2 separate regions of the Homo sapiens genome follow, and region 2 is linked to region 1. The links are contacts of gene promoters, found by promoter capture Hi-C in human tissues and cell types (Jung and others, 2019). All regions are on one chromosome and are shown on one strand. Each heading gives the region's core, a stretch centred on a gene start or on the middle of the fragment in contact. The rest is flanking DNA. Distances are from core to core; before and after follow the strand shown. Region 1 overlaps LOC105378671 (a long non-coding RNA gene). Region 2 holds the start of CITED4 (Cbp/p300 interacting transactivator with Glu/Asp rich carboxy-terminal domain 4).

Region 1 (7,155 bases), core at 2,526-5,025:
ATAATATTATTCCCTATTGGCTGGGCTCGGTAGCTCACTCCTGTAATCCCAGCACTTTGGGAGGCCGAGGCAGGCAGATCACGAGGTCAGGAGATCGAGACCATCCTGACTAACACGGTGAAACCCCGTCTCTACTAAAAAAATACAAAAAATTAGTCGGGCGTGGTGGCGGGCGCCTGTAGTCCCAGCTACTCAGGAGGCTGAGGAAGGAGAATGGCGTGAAGGGAGGCAGAGGTTGCAGTGAGCCGAGATTGCGCCACTGCACTCCAGCCTGGGCGACAGAGCAAGACTCTGTCTCAAAAAAAGTATATATATGTATATATATATAAATATTATTCTCTATTTTTTTATATCTTTGTAATACAAATAATTAGGTTTAGGCCAGCATGTCTGGAGTATGGTGCAAGAGAGAGAAAGAAGTGAAGATGAGATTGGAGAAGGAGCAAAGAGCCAGGTCATGTAGGACAGTATAGCTCAAGGTAAGCAGTGGGGATTTGAAGTGTACTGAGTAATCATTGTTTTACTGAGTAATCAAAGCTTTAAGTGGAGGTGTAACTTTGTCTGGTTTACACTCTTGCTGCCATGTGAGAATAGGTGGTGAGAGGCGAGAATGAAAGCAGGGAACCTATTGTAGTACTCCAGATGATCAAGTTAGAGATGTATTTTGGAAGTAGAACTAACAGGCTGATGCACTGTTTTTGAGGAAATTGAAATAATCTGGAATGGCTACATGGCTTTTGGTTTGAATGGTGGGCAATGATGTTTATTGAGAAAAGGAAGGCTTAGGAAAGAACAGACTGGGGATAGAGTGAGGGAGAATCAAGAGTTCTATTTGGAACAGGTTAAGTTTGATTTTCCTGTGAGTTCCTATGAGACATTTAAATGGAGATGCCAGATAGGCACTTGTATGTGTGACTGTGGAGCTTCAGCTGAAGATGTGGGGCCATCAGCTGTTCCACCTCTGTTAGGCAAAAAGAAAAATAAATCTCTAGTGACTCCACCACATCTTCATCTAGCTTCCATCCCACTTCTTTGCTTCCTTTTATAGAAAAACTTCTCTAAAGAGCTGGCCAGACCTTCTGTTTCTACTTACCCTCTTCTCATTCTTACTTGAACTCTTCTCAGTCAGGTTTTATCCCCACCAGTCAATGAAACAGCTCATTTTAACACCACCAGTGAGTTCTACTTTTGTGTGTGTCCAAAGGTGAATTATCAGTCCTTGTTTAGTCAATCTCTTAGCAGTATTTGGCATTGTCGATAATTCCCCAACATTTAATTTCACTTGGATTCCAAGTCTGCACATTCTCCTGGTGTTTTTTTTCTTGATTTCTTTTCTTTTATTCTCTCTTTTCTTTGTGATTTCTAAGTGTCCCAGGCATAGTCTGTCAACTTCTTTTCTATCTACACTCACTGCTACACTCACCCAGTTCTAATACATGTATGTGCTTATGACAATACCACCCTAAGTCCAGGCAACAAGGGCCCTGCCCTGGGTCCCACACTTTAGAGGACTACACAAACCTCTCTCTCTCTTTCTTACACACACACACATGCACACACACACACACACACACAGTAACTATATTAAAGAACACATGGGCACCCCTATCATTTGAAATCCAGCACTCAGCACAAGTACAATCTTAAATATTTGCTTTCTTGAGGCAGGGTCTCACTCTGTCACCCATGCTGAAATGCAGTGGTATGATCACAGCTCACTGCAGCCTTGGCCTTCCTGGACTCAAGCAAGCCTCTCACGTCAGTCTCTTGAGTAGCTGAGACTACAGAAATGCAACAACAAGCCTAGCTTTTTTCCATTTCTATTCTTTTCTTTCTTCCTTTGTTTCTTTGTTTCTTTCTTTCTTTCCTTCTTTCTTCTTCTTCTTCTTTTTTTTTTTTTTTGACGGAGTTTCCCCTTTGTCACTAGACTGGAGTGCAGTGGGGTGATCTCAACTCACTAGAATTTCTGCCTCCTGGGTTCAAGAGATTCTTCTGCCTCAGTCTCCTGAGTATCTGGGATTGCAGGTGTGCATCACCACACCCGGATAAATATTTGCTTTCTTTACCACTACTATTCAGGCTTTAGGGAACCTCTTTATCACGTCTCTTGCTCCATATACTCAAAGCTGAAAGGCACCAAAAGAATTGAAACCAGAGACATGAACAAATATTTGTACATTTGTGTTCACAACACTGTTATTCATAATAACCAAACGATAAAAATGACCCAAATGTCCATGAATGAATGAATAAATAAATGAATGTGGTATAGACATGCAATGGAATGTTATTCAACCTTAAAAAGGAAAGAAATTCATTCCTGAAAAAACAGGGGGAGGGAGGAAATTCTGACACGTGCTACAACATGGATAAATGTTGATTATGCTAAGTGAAACAAGCATCATAAAAAGACAAATGTTGTATGAGTCCACTTATATGAGGTATATAGAGTAGTCAAATTCATAGAGTAAGAAAGAATAATGGTGGTTGCCAGGGGCTGGGGGAGAGAGAGGCCAGCAGAGTTATTGTTTAATGGATGTAGAATTTCAGTTTGGGAAGATGAAAAAGTTACGGTGATGGAGGGTGGTGATGCTTGCACAACAATGTGAATGTACTTAATGCCACTGAACTATACACTTAAAAATGGATAAAATGATAAGCTTTACCTTATGCATATTTTACCACCATTAAAAAAATGAAAGACAACTGCATCCTAATGTCTTGAAGGTTTTGGGTTGTGCTACTTAAGAGAAATAGGCACACTGTTTTTGAAATGCTACGTAGAGTGTGTTCGAGCTACAGAAGCACTTGGGTAAGAGAAAACACAAATTAGCTTGTCATACTCTTCCTCTTAGATAGCATAAATGCATTTTCTTGCATAACCATGTATTGTTTCTTGGTAGTGGCAGATGTTCCTTTTTTTAATTGTCTCCATACACACATATGCGTATACACTGATATATACATGTATCTGTCTAGATGTAACATGAGTAGAGAGTAAGACTGAACATTTACATAATCATAAATAGACAATGAATATTAGCATTGGGAATAACTATTTGTACAAAAATATTTAATAAGACTGAATTGTTTTTTAAATGAAATTTACAATTCTAGCATTATTTACTTAATTTTAATTTAAAATTGTGAAAGAAAATAGTCTATTTTGAGCTTCTAAAAGTTGTTAGGCCCTAAGCAAGGTTGACTTTGGAGACTGAGTCACAAAGCATGACCTCTTGTTTACTGGCATTTTTGTTTTTTTGTTTTTGTTTTTTTTGACACAAGGTCTTACTTTGTCACCCAGTCTGGAGTGCAGTGATCTCAGCTCACTGCAACCTCAACTTCTTGGTTCAAGAGATCCTTCTGCCTCAGCCCCTCAAGTAGCTGGAACTACAGGCACATGCCACCACACCAAGCTAATTTTTGCATTTTTTATAGAGATGGGGTTGCTGGTCTCAAACTCCTGGACTCAAATGATCTGTCCATCTCAGCCTTTCAAAGCCCTGGGATTACAAGCGTGAGCCACTGTGCGTGGCGGCCTTTTGTTATAGATTAACTTCCTTCCTATTTTCTTTTACTTGGCTCAAACAAGAAAAAAAGACCCCTTGACTATTACATCCTTAATGTGAAATGTGAAATATACCCTTCCCCCAAAAGAAACACTGCATATAATCAATCAAATTGCTGTATCTATGCATTAATCTTGTATGCAAAATGTTGAAATCCTGGTAAGCTTCCCCAGACTTTACCTATTTAAGCACCCTCAAACCTCTCCATTTCAGAGCACTGACCCCATCTTTTTGGAGTCTATATCCTCTCAGATGGCCACCCTCAAATTTACACTCGAATAAACTCAATATTTAATACTGTTGCCTGAATTTCATTATTAAGGTTGACATTTTGGCGACCATGAAGGGACCTAAGGCAAACCTTCATTCCAGTGATTCCTGTCATTTCACTAACAGCCAAAATCTTGGTACCAGCATGAACAACTTTTGTTCATCCACCCTCAAAAGAACTAATGGGGATCCCTGGTAAGGCTCCTCTCAGGTTGTAGTCCTCTTGGCTTTGATGAGGATTCAGACTTTATTCCAGCTATACACTTCTAACTGGAGGAAGTAAGAATTAAAGCTCTGCTGCAAGATAGGAGTTTCATTTGTTATTCTGTAGAGATTCTGCTGATCATAGATTTGTGACTTTCAGTCGGGTGCAGTGGCTCACACCTGTAATCTCAGCACTTTGGGAGGCCGAGGTGGGTGGATCACTTGAGGTTGGGAGTTCGAGACCAGCCTGGCCAACATGGTGAAACCCCGTTTCTACTAAAAACACAAAAATTAACTGGGCGTGGTGGCACATGCCTGTAGTGCCAGCTACTCAGGAGGCTGAAGCAGGAGAATCACTTAAACCCAAGAGGCAGAGGTTGCAGTGAGCCGAGATCACACTACTGTATTCCAGCCTGGGTGACAGAGCAAGACTATGTCTCAAAAAAAAAAAAAATTGTGACTTTCACTTTTCTGTGAGGTTAAGGTTTTTGTTTTGAATTACTCCTTAGAGTTTTTACAACTTTTTCTCTCATTCAAAATGTTGATAAGGTGAAAAACAGTTTATTTTTAAAAAGAGGAAGTAAATCTTTGTGGTTTAAGCAAAAATGTTATAATATTTAAAGCTAGCCAGGTTCTGAGGCTTGGTTCAATTGACAAATTCAAGCTTGCTTCTTGAGTGACCAAAATTATGAAATACTCTGTATAAGGATGAAATAAGTCCTGAAGATAATAGACACTGTTTCTCCCAGCTAAAAGTCACCTTAAGCAACTAAGGTCTAGTGTGAGTATCTGAGTTAATCACTCCTGATAAGTAACAGTCTCACAGGAAATCCCTTAAGTAGAATTTAAAGGAAACCTTGCTTAATCTGGTGAGCACACATAAAGGATTGATTACCCTGTATCTTAAGCATCCAAGTTTGTTGGTATCATTGAGATTTGTATGTGAGAAGAACTGACTCAAGAGTGACACCTTGAGGAGCTATTTTCGCAAGCAGCACACTCGATCTCAAAACAACTTTCACTAAGTCTTTTGGTCTTAGGGATCTCAAAACAACTTTCTTGATCTCAAAACAACTTTCCCTAAGTCTTTTGATGCACTATGGGCAACTGTGCATCTAAAACTGAACCTTCCTCCTTAAGAGAGACCCACTATTAGAAACTCCAGCTGGATTTATAGTTAACACATATGACATGATGCCTTTTCAGGTAAGTATTTAGAAAACTGCTCGTGAATAACTCACAATGACTCCAAATTATAATGGCCAAAATGGTGTGCCTTTGAAATGCCTAATCTAGTTTACTTATATGCTCAATTAGAATAAGCTGGCTCTAAAATAAAACAGAGCAATTGGAAAAGTTATTTTCAATGGCATTTAGAGGCTTCCAAAAGAGGTTTTGATAAAGTTCTTTCTTTACAGAAAGAAAACAAAAGATTCTCTGAAACAATTTCTGAAATAAAAAAGCTGCTGAAATTTCTCCTCCTCAACTCCTCCTTCTCTTTATCCTTCATTATCTCAACTACTTTTTCTTCCTCCTCCCACTTCTACTCCCATTGTTCTGGCTCCATTTTGTGAGTAGCTGGTGTCTGGTAGGGGAGAACCTACCTTGGTTTATGAACCAAGGTGAAATCTAAAGGCATAGTTAAAGAATTCCCTGACTCTCACCTGGACCCTACTCATTTTACCAGACAATTTGAATGGAATATTCAAGCTTATGATCCTGTTGTTTTTTTTCTAATTTATACTAACTAGTTCACATGTTAACATCAAAAAGTAAAGCTAAAGGCGGAGCTTGGTGGCTCATGCCTATAATCCCAGACCTTTGCAAGGCCAAGGTGGGTGGATCACTTGAGGTCAGGAGCTCGAGACCAGCCTGACCAACATTACAGGCATGAGCCACGCGCCCGGCCTAAGGAGTCTTATATCTCAGTCAAGAATCAGTCAAGGAGACTTATATAGACTCAGTCAAGGAGTCTTGTATCTCAGGTACCATCTGAGTCAGGTACAAGAAAATAAGAAAGGAAATTAATCTATAATAAAAAGTCAAGATTAAGAGGTCATGCTCTGTGACTTGGTCTCCAAAGTCAATCTTCCACAAAACCTAAGCTTTTAGAAGCCCCAAATAGACAGACTATTCCTTTTCTTTCACATTTTCCCCTTTTCTTCAAGATCTTTGAAGAAAGCATTACGGAAGAAGCATTTGTTAGAGAGTAGTTATATCTCACATCACTAGGAAGTCTCATTCCTAGAGAGTCATGCCCCACAGAGAGGGGAAATGTTTAATTCATAAGCCGAAAGAAGCCAAAGCCTAATTATGAACAACAGAAGGAAAGTATAACTTAGTGGTCTGATTCTGGTTGTGTGACTTATTTTCAATTAAGGCAACTTTTTAAGCAATTATTATTCTAGTTTTAGTCATTGATCACAAGCAAGCTGAAACACGAATCATGAGTAATTTGATAACTAGGAAAATGGAAACTGTACTTATGATTATAATAACAATTACTTGAAGACCAGAACGAAAAAATGAACTTAGCCCTGAGGGTAACCAACTAAACAAGTCATTTAGAGAATCCATTTTCTTTTCTTTCTTTCTTTCTTTTCTTTTCTTTCTTTTTTTTTTTTTTTTTTTGAGACAGAGTCTTACTCTGTCACCCAGGCGGGAGTGCAGTGGCATGATCTTGGCTCACTGCAACCTTCGCCTCCTGGGTTCAAGTGATTCTCCTGCCTCAGCCTCCTGAGTAGCTGGGACTACAGGGGTGTGCCATCACGACCAGCTAATTTCTGCGTTTTTAGTAGAGATGGGGTCTTGCCACTTTGGCCAGACTGGTCTTGAACTCCTGGCCTCAGGTGATCCACCTACCTTGGCCTCCCAAAGTGCTGGGATTACCGGCGTGAACCACTGTGCCAGCCTAGAGAATCCATTTTCTAACATCTTATAACCATTAGTCTTTTGAGTTTTATTTATTTATTTATTTTTGAGATGGAGTCTCACTCTGTCCCCCAGGCTGGAGTGCAGTAGCGCAATCTTGGCTCACTGCAACATCTGCCCCATGGTTTCAACCACCGTGCCTGGCTTTTTTTTTTTTTTTCGATGGAGTCTTGCTCTGTTG
Region 2 (7,155 bases), core at 1,570-4,069, 710 kb before region 1:
GCCCGGCCTAAAGAACTTCTTAAACATTAGTTACACACACATTTTTTTTTAAATGGAAAATCATCTGGTGGTGCAATGGCTCCCAAATGCTGGTGACCTAAGACCAATGATGGCAGAATAATTTTTTGTTTGTTTTGTTTGTTTTTTTTTGTTTTTTGAGAGAGGGTCTCCCTACATCACCCGGGCTGGAGTGCAGTGGTGTGATCATAGCTCACTGTAGCCTCAACTTCCCAGGTTCAAGTGATCCTCCCACCTCAACCTCCCAAGTAGCAAGGACTACAAGTGCACACCACCATGCCAAGTTAATTTTTTATTTTTTCAGAAACAGGGGTCTCAAACTCCTGAGCTCAAGGGATCTACTTACCTCGGCCTCCCAAAGTGCTGGGATTACAAGCGTGAGCCACTCACCTGGCCTGCTTGTTGATTTTTTTGAGACAAGATCTCTGTCGCCCAGGCTGGAGTGCAGTGGTGCCATCATGGCTCACTGCAGCCTCCACCTCCAGGGCTCAGCTAATCCTCCCACCTGAGCCTCCTGGGTAGCTCAGACTACAGATACATGCCACTATGCCCAACTAATTATTTAACTTTTTGTAGAGACACGGTCTCACTATGTTTCCCAGGCTGGTCTTGAGCTCCTGGGCTCAAGCAATCCTCTCACTTTCATCTCCCAAATTGGGCAGATTTTCCGTCTTTATCAAAGCCCCCACTCACCCACCCCTTACCCCCCACATCTCCAGATAAGTGTGAGGCATGGCCAGGTTTAAGAATTTCTGTGAGAAGCCTTACCTGTAGAGAAAGATTCAGGAGAATAAATTCCAGGGTGTAGCTTTTTACACTTTGCAAAAATGTGACCACACCCATGGTCATTTATCACTACCCACAAGCTCTCAGGCTGACCAGGCAAGATCACCGTCTCCCTTTCACAGAGCAGAAAGCTGAGGCCCTGGGGAATCAAGTAATACTCCCCGCTCAACACTCAACAGTCACAGCTGGTTGGTGGTGGAGGTCACACACCTGTGGGTGGCAGAGATATGATTAGAACTTGGGCCTCTGGCTGGGCGCAGTGGCTCATGCCTGTAATCCTAGCACTTTGGAAGCCTGAGGTGAGAGGGTCACTTGAGGCCAGGGATTCGAGATAAGCCTGAGGCCCTCCTCACTCCCCCACGCCGCCCCTCCCCCCCGCTCCCTTCTCTATTTAAAAAAATAAGAAGAAAGAGGGAAGAAAAGACCTTGGGCCCCTGAATTCTCACTCTAGGGCTCTCCCCTCTACATCAACTGGATAAACCCAAGTTCCAGGAAGTCCCAAGGATGCCACAGGTCGGGGGAAGGTCAGAGAAGGGAGAGAGAGTGTCAAATGCGTGGAGGGTAAGGTTCTGGGAGGCTGTCTCCTGGCCACAGGAAAGACTCCAGTTGCCCTAAGGACTTGGAAAACACATGGCATTCACACGCTAACTCTGGCTGCCTGTGACCTCAGGACAGCCACTTTCTCTTTGTGTGCTTCTCCTTATCACTGAAATGGGGCTGATAATCCATGCCCTGCCCCCAACAAAATACTTGTAGAATGTAAAGCACTTTAAAAGTCCAAGTTATTATTGCTGTTATCAAGAGAAGGCCCTTTGGGACAGAACTTAAATAGCCTTGGCCGGGCGCGGTGGCTCACGCCTGTAATTCCAGCACTTTGGGAGGCCGAGGCGGGCGGATCACGAGGTCAGCAGATCGAGACCATCCTGGCTAACACGGTGAAACCCCGTCTCTACTAAAAATACAAAAAAAATTAGCCGGGCGTGGTAGCGGGCGCCTGTAGTCCCAGCTACTCGGGAGACTGAGGCAGGAGAATGGCGTGAACCCGGGAGGCGGAGCTTGCAGTGAGCCAAGACAGCGCCACTGCAGTCCAGCCTGGGCGAAAGAGCGAGACTCCGTCTCAAAAAAAAAAAAAAAAAGAACTTAAATAGCCTTTCTTTCATCTAAGGGACACTTTTGAGCATCTACCACATACCAGGCACTGTGCTAGGCACTGTGCACACATGCCCTCACTTACCCCTCACAAAGGGTCAGTGCTGCTGTTCTTTACCTTTTACAGATGAAGAAACTGAGGCTCAGCTGAGAGTTGCAATTCATTCCATCATTAGTTCATTCACTCAGCTTTTACTAAAAGCCTGCTCTGGGCCAGGCTCTGGGCCAAGTGCTGAGAAGAAGAAGATGAACAAGTCCTTCAGGAGACGTGCCCATAAATTAATAACAACTAAGTACATGCTTCAACAGACAAGGTGCAGTGGGAACTAGAGGGGGAGCAACAGGCTCTCCTGGGGGTTATGGGAATGGACAGCTGACCTCCTGCGGGGACCCTGCACCGCTAAGGTGCATGCGCCCTGTGTAGCTGTGCAGTCTCACTTTGATCAAGGCTTTGCTGTGTATTTCCAGGAAGCCTCTTCCGCCACTGAGCCTCGGTCTCTACCTGGAAAGTTAAAAGGTTGCGTAGGCCTGACATCCTGCAGCTCTTGGGGGGCCTAAAACTCTGGCCCTCCCACCCCACCTTCTGGTCAGTTCAAGCTCTACCCCAGCCAAGTCCGATTCCGAAGCCCTGAGGGCCAGACCGAATCCCTCCGAAAGTGCCAAATACCCCGCCCCAGGGCGGTGCTCAGAGCCTGGGGCGTGGCCGGAGTCCCAAGGGGCGGGGTTCCAGTGGGAGGGGCGGGGCCAAGACCTAGATGCAGGCGTGCGCGGCCCGCCCAGAAGCGTCTCGCCCAGCCAATGAGCGTCCGAGGGCGGGGAAGCCCCGCCTCTGGGTATAAGAATACGCCGAGCCCAGCTACGCGACGCGGAGGTTTCGGAGCACTACAGGTTGCGGGCCTTTGTGACCCCAGGCTGCGGCCGCAAGGTGCGCAGTAGTGGGCTGGGCCGGGGCACCAGTCGGGTTTGGTTTTGCTCCGCCCGGCCGAGCTGCAGGGACCGCACGGTGCCCGGGTCTCCCGCCGCAGAGCAGCCGCTGGCCCGGGCCGGGGGAGCCGGCGCTGACCACCGCGCGCTGTCCCCGCAGGCAGCCGGCCTGCCGCCATGGCCGACCACCTGATGCTCGCCGAGGGCTACCGCCTGGTGCAGAGGCCGCCGTCCGCCGCGGCCGCCCATGGCCCTCATGCGCTCCGGACTCTGCCGCCGTACGCGGGCCCGGGCCTGGACAGTGGGCTGAGGCCGCGGGGGGCTCCGCTGGGGCCGCCGCCGCCCCGCCAACCCGGGGCCCTGGCGTACGGGGCCTTCGGGCCGCCGTCCTCCTTCCAGCCCTTTCCGGCCGTGCCTCCGCCGGCCGCGGGCATCGCGCACCTGCAGCCTGTGGCGACGCCGTACCCCGGCCGCGCGGCCGCGCCCCCCAACGCTCCGGGAGGCCCCCCGGGCCCGCAGCCGGCGCCAAGCGCCGCAGCCCCGCCGCCGCCCGCGCACGCCCTGGGCGGCATGGACGCCGAACTCATCGACGAGGAGGCGCTGACGTCGCTGGAGCTGGAGCTCGGGCTGCACCGCGTGCGCGAGCTGCCCGAGCTCTTCCTGGGCCAGAGCGAGTTCGACTGCTTCTCGGACTTGGGGTCCGCGCCGCCCGCCGGCTCCGTGAGCTGCTGAGGGCGGCCGGCGCCCGCCCGGCGTGCCGGAGAGGAGAAAGGGCCCGACTGCCCGCCGGACCCTGCACCCAGCGACTGGGCCCCGCGCGCGCCCTCCGCGAGGGTGGAGGCGGCGGCTGTGTGCGCAGGGCCCGGCACCGGACTGGGACCCTGGCGTCCCTCCAGGCCTTGCCTCCTGCGGGAGGACAGTTTGGCTTCACTTCTCTGACCCCAGCCTCGGCCGTAAAGTGAAAGAGACCGGACCAGCTTCAGCTTTCGGACTCTGGTTCTTGGATCGTGTCCTCTCCCCCTCGCCGCCCTCTTCCCCCAATCTGAGCCATTGCAGGCCTCTGCCTGCTGCCCCCTCTCTCCTCGGGATCGGGTCCCCAGAGCCACCATCTCCTGAGCCTCCCACCCCGCTGCCTGGGCCCTGTGGTTGCTGGGCCTCCCACCTCAAGGAGGGGAAGGTTGTACAGCCCGAACCCGTGGAGCAATGCCCTGTCTGGCCTCCAAAACCAAAATAAAACTGGGTCACTTTACAGTCTTGCCGTTTTCATTTCCTTATCACCCCGAGCCCTGACTATATTTAGCTTCCAAAGTCCCAAGGTTGCTGAAGACACTGGATGGCATGGGGGCCACAGTCCCCAGCAGTGCCCAGGAGAGGAAACCGACAGTTTCTTTCAAAAATATCTCGTGGGTTGTGCAATTGTTATGTCACAACCTGGAGGGCAGAGGCTGCCACTGGGTGGTGGGGTAACCCACTGGGCTTCCCAGCTCCTAGGGTAGGGTGGGGGGAGCTTGGTGCTCTGCCAGAGAGGAGCTGGGTGGCACCGAGTTCAGACAGCCTAGCTTTGGACCCTGACTCTCTCCTTTGCCCAAGACACCATCCGTTCTGATTTTTGAGGCGGTTTCCCAGAGGGAGATGGTCCCCGTCTCCTCAGGTAGTTACGCTGCCTTTAGCACAGTGCCAAATACCTGGGCAGTTCTCAGTAAGTGACGGCAATTATTATTCTACAAATTGGTGCTGATTTTATTCCAGGCCCTGTGTCAACCTGGTGCATGTTCTCATGGAATCACAGCCCAGGTGGGAGGAGGTGGGTGATAGGCCTGAAAACAAACTAATCTTGCTGCAAGGAAGACTGTGATGAGTTCTAGAAAACAGTGCTAAGCAGCACTTTGGGAGGCCGAGACGGGCAGATCACGAGGTCAACAGATCGAGACCATCCTGGCTAATATGGTGAAACCCCGTCTCTACTAAAAATATAAAAATTAGCTGGGCATGGTGGTGCGCGCCTATAGTCCCAGCTACTCGGGAGGCTGAGGCAGGAGAATCGCTTGAACCCAGGAGGCAGAAGTTGCAGTGAGCCGAGATCATGCCACTGCACTCCAGCCTGGCAACAGAGCGAGACTCCTCAAGAAAAAAGAAAATAGTTCTGGGGGGGATTGTACAGCCAGGACAATAGACCGGCCAAGCGGGCACACCCAGAGAAGGGAGCAGTTTCAGCTATTAATAGTTGAGGTTGGGGTCAGTTCAGGCTTCAGGGAAGCGGTGACATTTGACGTGATGAACAGAGCCTTGAGTGATGAATATGTTTTTAGGAGAGGAGCCTGTTTCAAGGCAGGAAGGCACACAAGTACGATGAATGTTTGGGGAAGGTGTGGGGTGTCTAGAAGGTACAAGAAAGGTCGAATGGCTTTACGACAACTTCGTGAGGCAAGCACAGTCCTCATTCTACACATGAGGGTTGTGGAGTGTGCCCAGGCCTGGCAGGATTTGGCCTCAGAGTCCTGAGCACCAGCGTGAGTTCCTGGCCACCCTCTGCAGTTCACTCTGGAAAAATCCCTAGGTGCTTCTGAGATGTGGGAGAAAAGCTGGGAAAGAGATTGAAGTCAGGGAGGAGGCCGGGTCAGAGACGCTGCGGTGGTGGGGCATTCTCTAGGAGAGCATGGATTCCAGGGACACTGGAGGGGAACACCAGGCTGAGACCTTCTGTCCCCAGCAGCTGGGCTTGACTCTCAAGCCAGGCTTTTTTGTGGATGTGACCCTCCACCAACCTGTGAGTTCTCCCAGGACCTACTGTGCTCTGAAGCTACCAGGATGGAATGTGGCTGGTGACAGGAGGTGTTTGGCAAATGAATAAAGGTCTCCCTAAGATCATGGGATTTCTGGGACAGGATGAAGAGAGAAAGGAAGAGAGCCTTCTGGGAAGGGACTGGCCTGAGCTCTGGGCTCAGAGGGGCTGGCATTTGCCCACCCCACCGCCCCGCTGCTTTGCCCAGAACCCCAGGCCAGAGACAGAAACCACAGGGCTGAATTAGTACAGGAGGGTTTGACCCTGAGCTGAACACTTCCCTGATTCTCTTCTCTCTCCCCTCAGTTTCCACACCAGTAAAATGGGGCTAATATCCCTGCCCTGCTACATTACAAAGCAATAACCCTCACAATTAGTAAGGAACAAATTCAGAGATGGGTTGATAAGCAGTTGGCAAACTCTGAAGTGCTCTCCATATGGAAGGGATTACAACGAAAACCCCAACACCTGCCTCTTTCCAGAGTTAAGGGGGAAGCGGAGGAGAGAGTCCAGCTGCTGAGCTCTTCCCTCCTGCATCCCTCCAAAAGGGACTGCTGACAAGTTGGACAGCAGACAGATGGACAGGGGAGAAGATGAGGCTGGGGCATCCCACAGCCTGGATCCCCAAATCCCTGATACTGTTTGGAGGCTTCTGACCCTACCATCCCCTACCAGGGGAAGAGAGAGTACGTGTAGAGACAGTGAGGAGAGCAATGGGCTTGTCGTCTGACAGCCTCAGGGTCCAGTTCAGAAGCAACTCTTACTAGCTGCCTGACCTCAAGGAAGCCACCACACCTCCCGCATCTTGGCTCTCCTAAGATAATCACACGAGCTTCCGTGGTGCCAACAGGGTGTCGCTCATGTCTCCCCCAGGGCTGCCTCCTAAAGCAACCTGTTGCCAAAGGGTGCTGTGGATTTCTCTCTTATACCTAGGCTGGATCTTGGGGGTCAGAAATCAGGCTTCCTCAGGGTTGAGAACTGAGTCATGACACAAGTCATTTTCCCATCCTTTTGTTGTTGTTGTTTTGTTTTGTTTTCCTATTCATATGAAAGTTTCCAGGCTGATGTTCTTTATTTTGAATTATCTTTTGGTTGACTGGATTTTATCAACAAGCTGTCATTTGTGTGTGTGGTTTTTTTTCCTTCAAGAAAAGTATAATTTCCCTTGAACTCATCTCTACAATGGGAATGCTAATAGTACCACCCTGCAGAACTGCTGTGGAGATTAAACAAGTTAGTGCAGGTAAAGTATTGAGAGCAGTGTGGTTTGTAGTAAGTGCTGTTATCCCTGATAACAGCACTTTTTGGAGATGCCTTTGTATTAGAATATTAGAAAGGCTGTGTTTTAACCAGCTAGAAAGGGGTTACTCCAACAAGCAACACTGTTACAGGTGGGGTTCCCTGGGAAGCAGACTCTGAGATGACATTCAGCTAGCAAGAGGTGTATTAGGGAGTGCCTTCAGGATCAGCAGCTGCAGAAGGGAGGGGACAGAAGG

Evidence for each region. The method cuts DNA at HindIII sites, captures the fragments that hold promoters and counts their contacts. A contact is called where the count stands out against the background at its distance.
Region 2: the fragment with the promoter of CITED4 here is called in contact with a fragment that was not itself captured in region 1 in 1 of the 25 tissues and cell types used here (dorsolateral prefrontal cortex).

Annotation. Positions count from the first base shown.
Region 1 is chr1:40,151,065-40,158,219 of GRCh38, reverse strand. LOC105378671 (a long non-coding RNA gene) reads left to right here. Exons shown (of 3, transcript XR_947232.3): 2 at 375-479. Among named protein-coding and RNA genes, the nearest start is that of RLF, 6.7 kb to the left of the region's middle. RefSeq lists a silencer at 4,366-4,505 and an enhancer at 4,706-4,765. The HindIII fragment of the contact is 4,352 bases long and covers 1,600-5,951 here.
Region 2 is chr1:40,858,027-40,865,181 of GRCh38, reverse strand. It overlaps CITED4 (Cbp/p300 interacting transactivator with Glu/Asp rich carboxy-terminal domain 4), which reads left to right and starts at 2,819. Exons shown (of 1, transcript NM_133467.3): 1 at 2,819-4,128. The coding sequence starts at 3,055. The coding sequence ends at 3,609. It overlaps LOC124904157 (a long non-coding RNA gene), which reads right to left and starts at 2,798. Exons shown (of 3, transcript XR_007066025.1): 1 at 2,072-2,798; 2 at 787-1,014. RefSeq lists enhancers at 1-9, 2,433-2,492 and silencers at 2,593-2,792, 2,953-3,032. The HindIII fragment of the contact is 13,673 bases long and covers 1-7,155 here.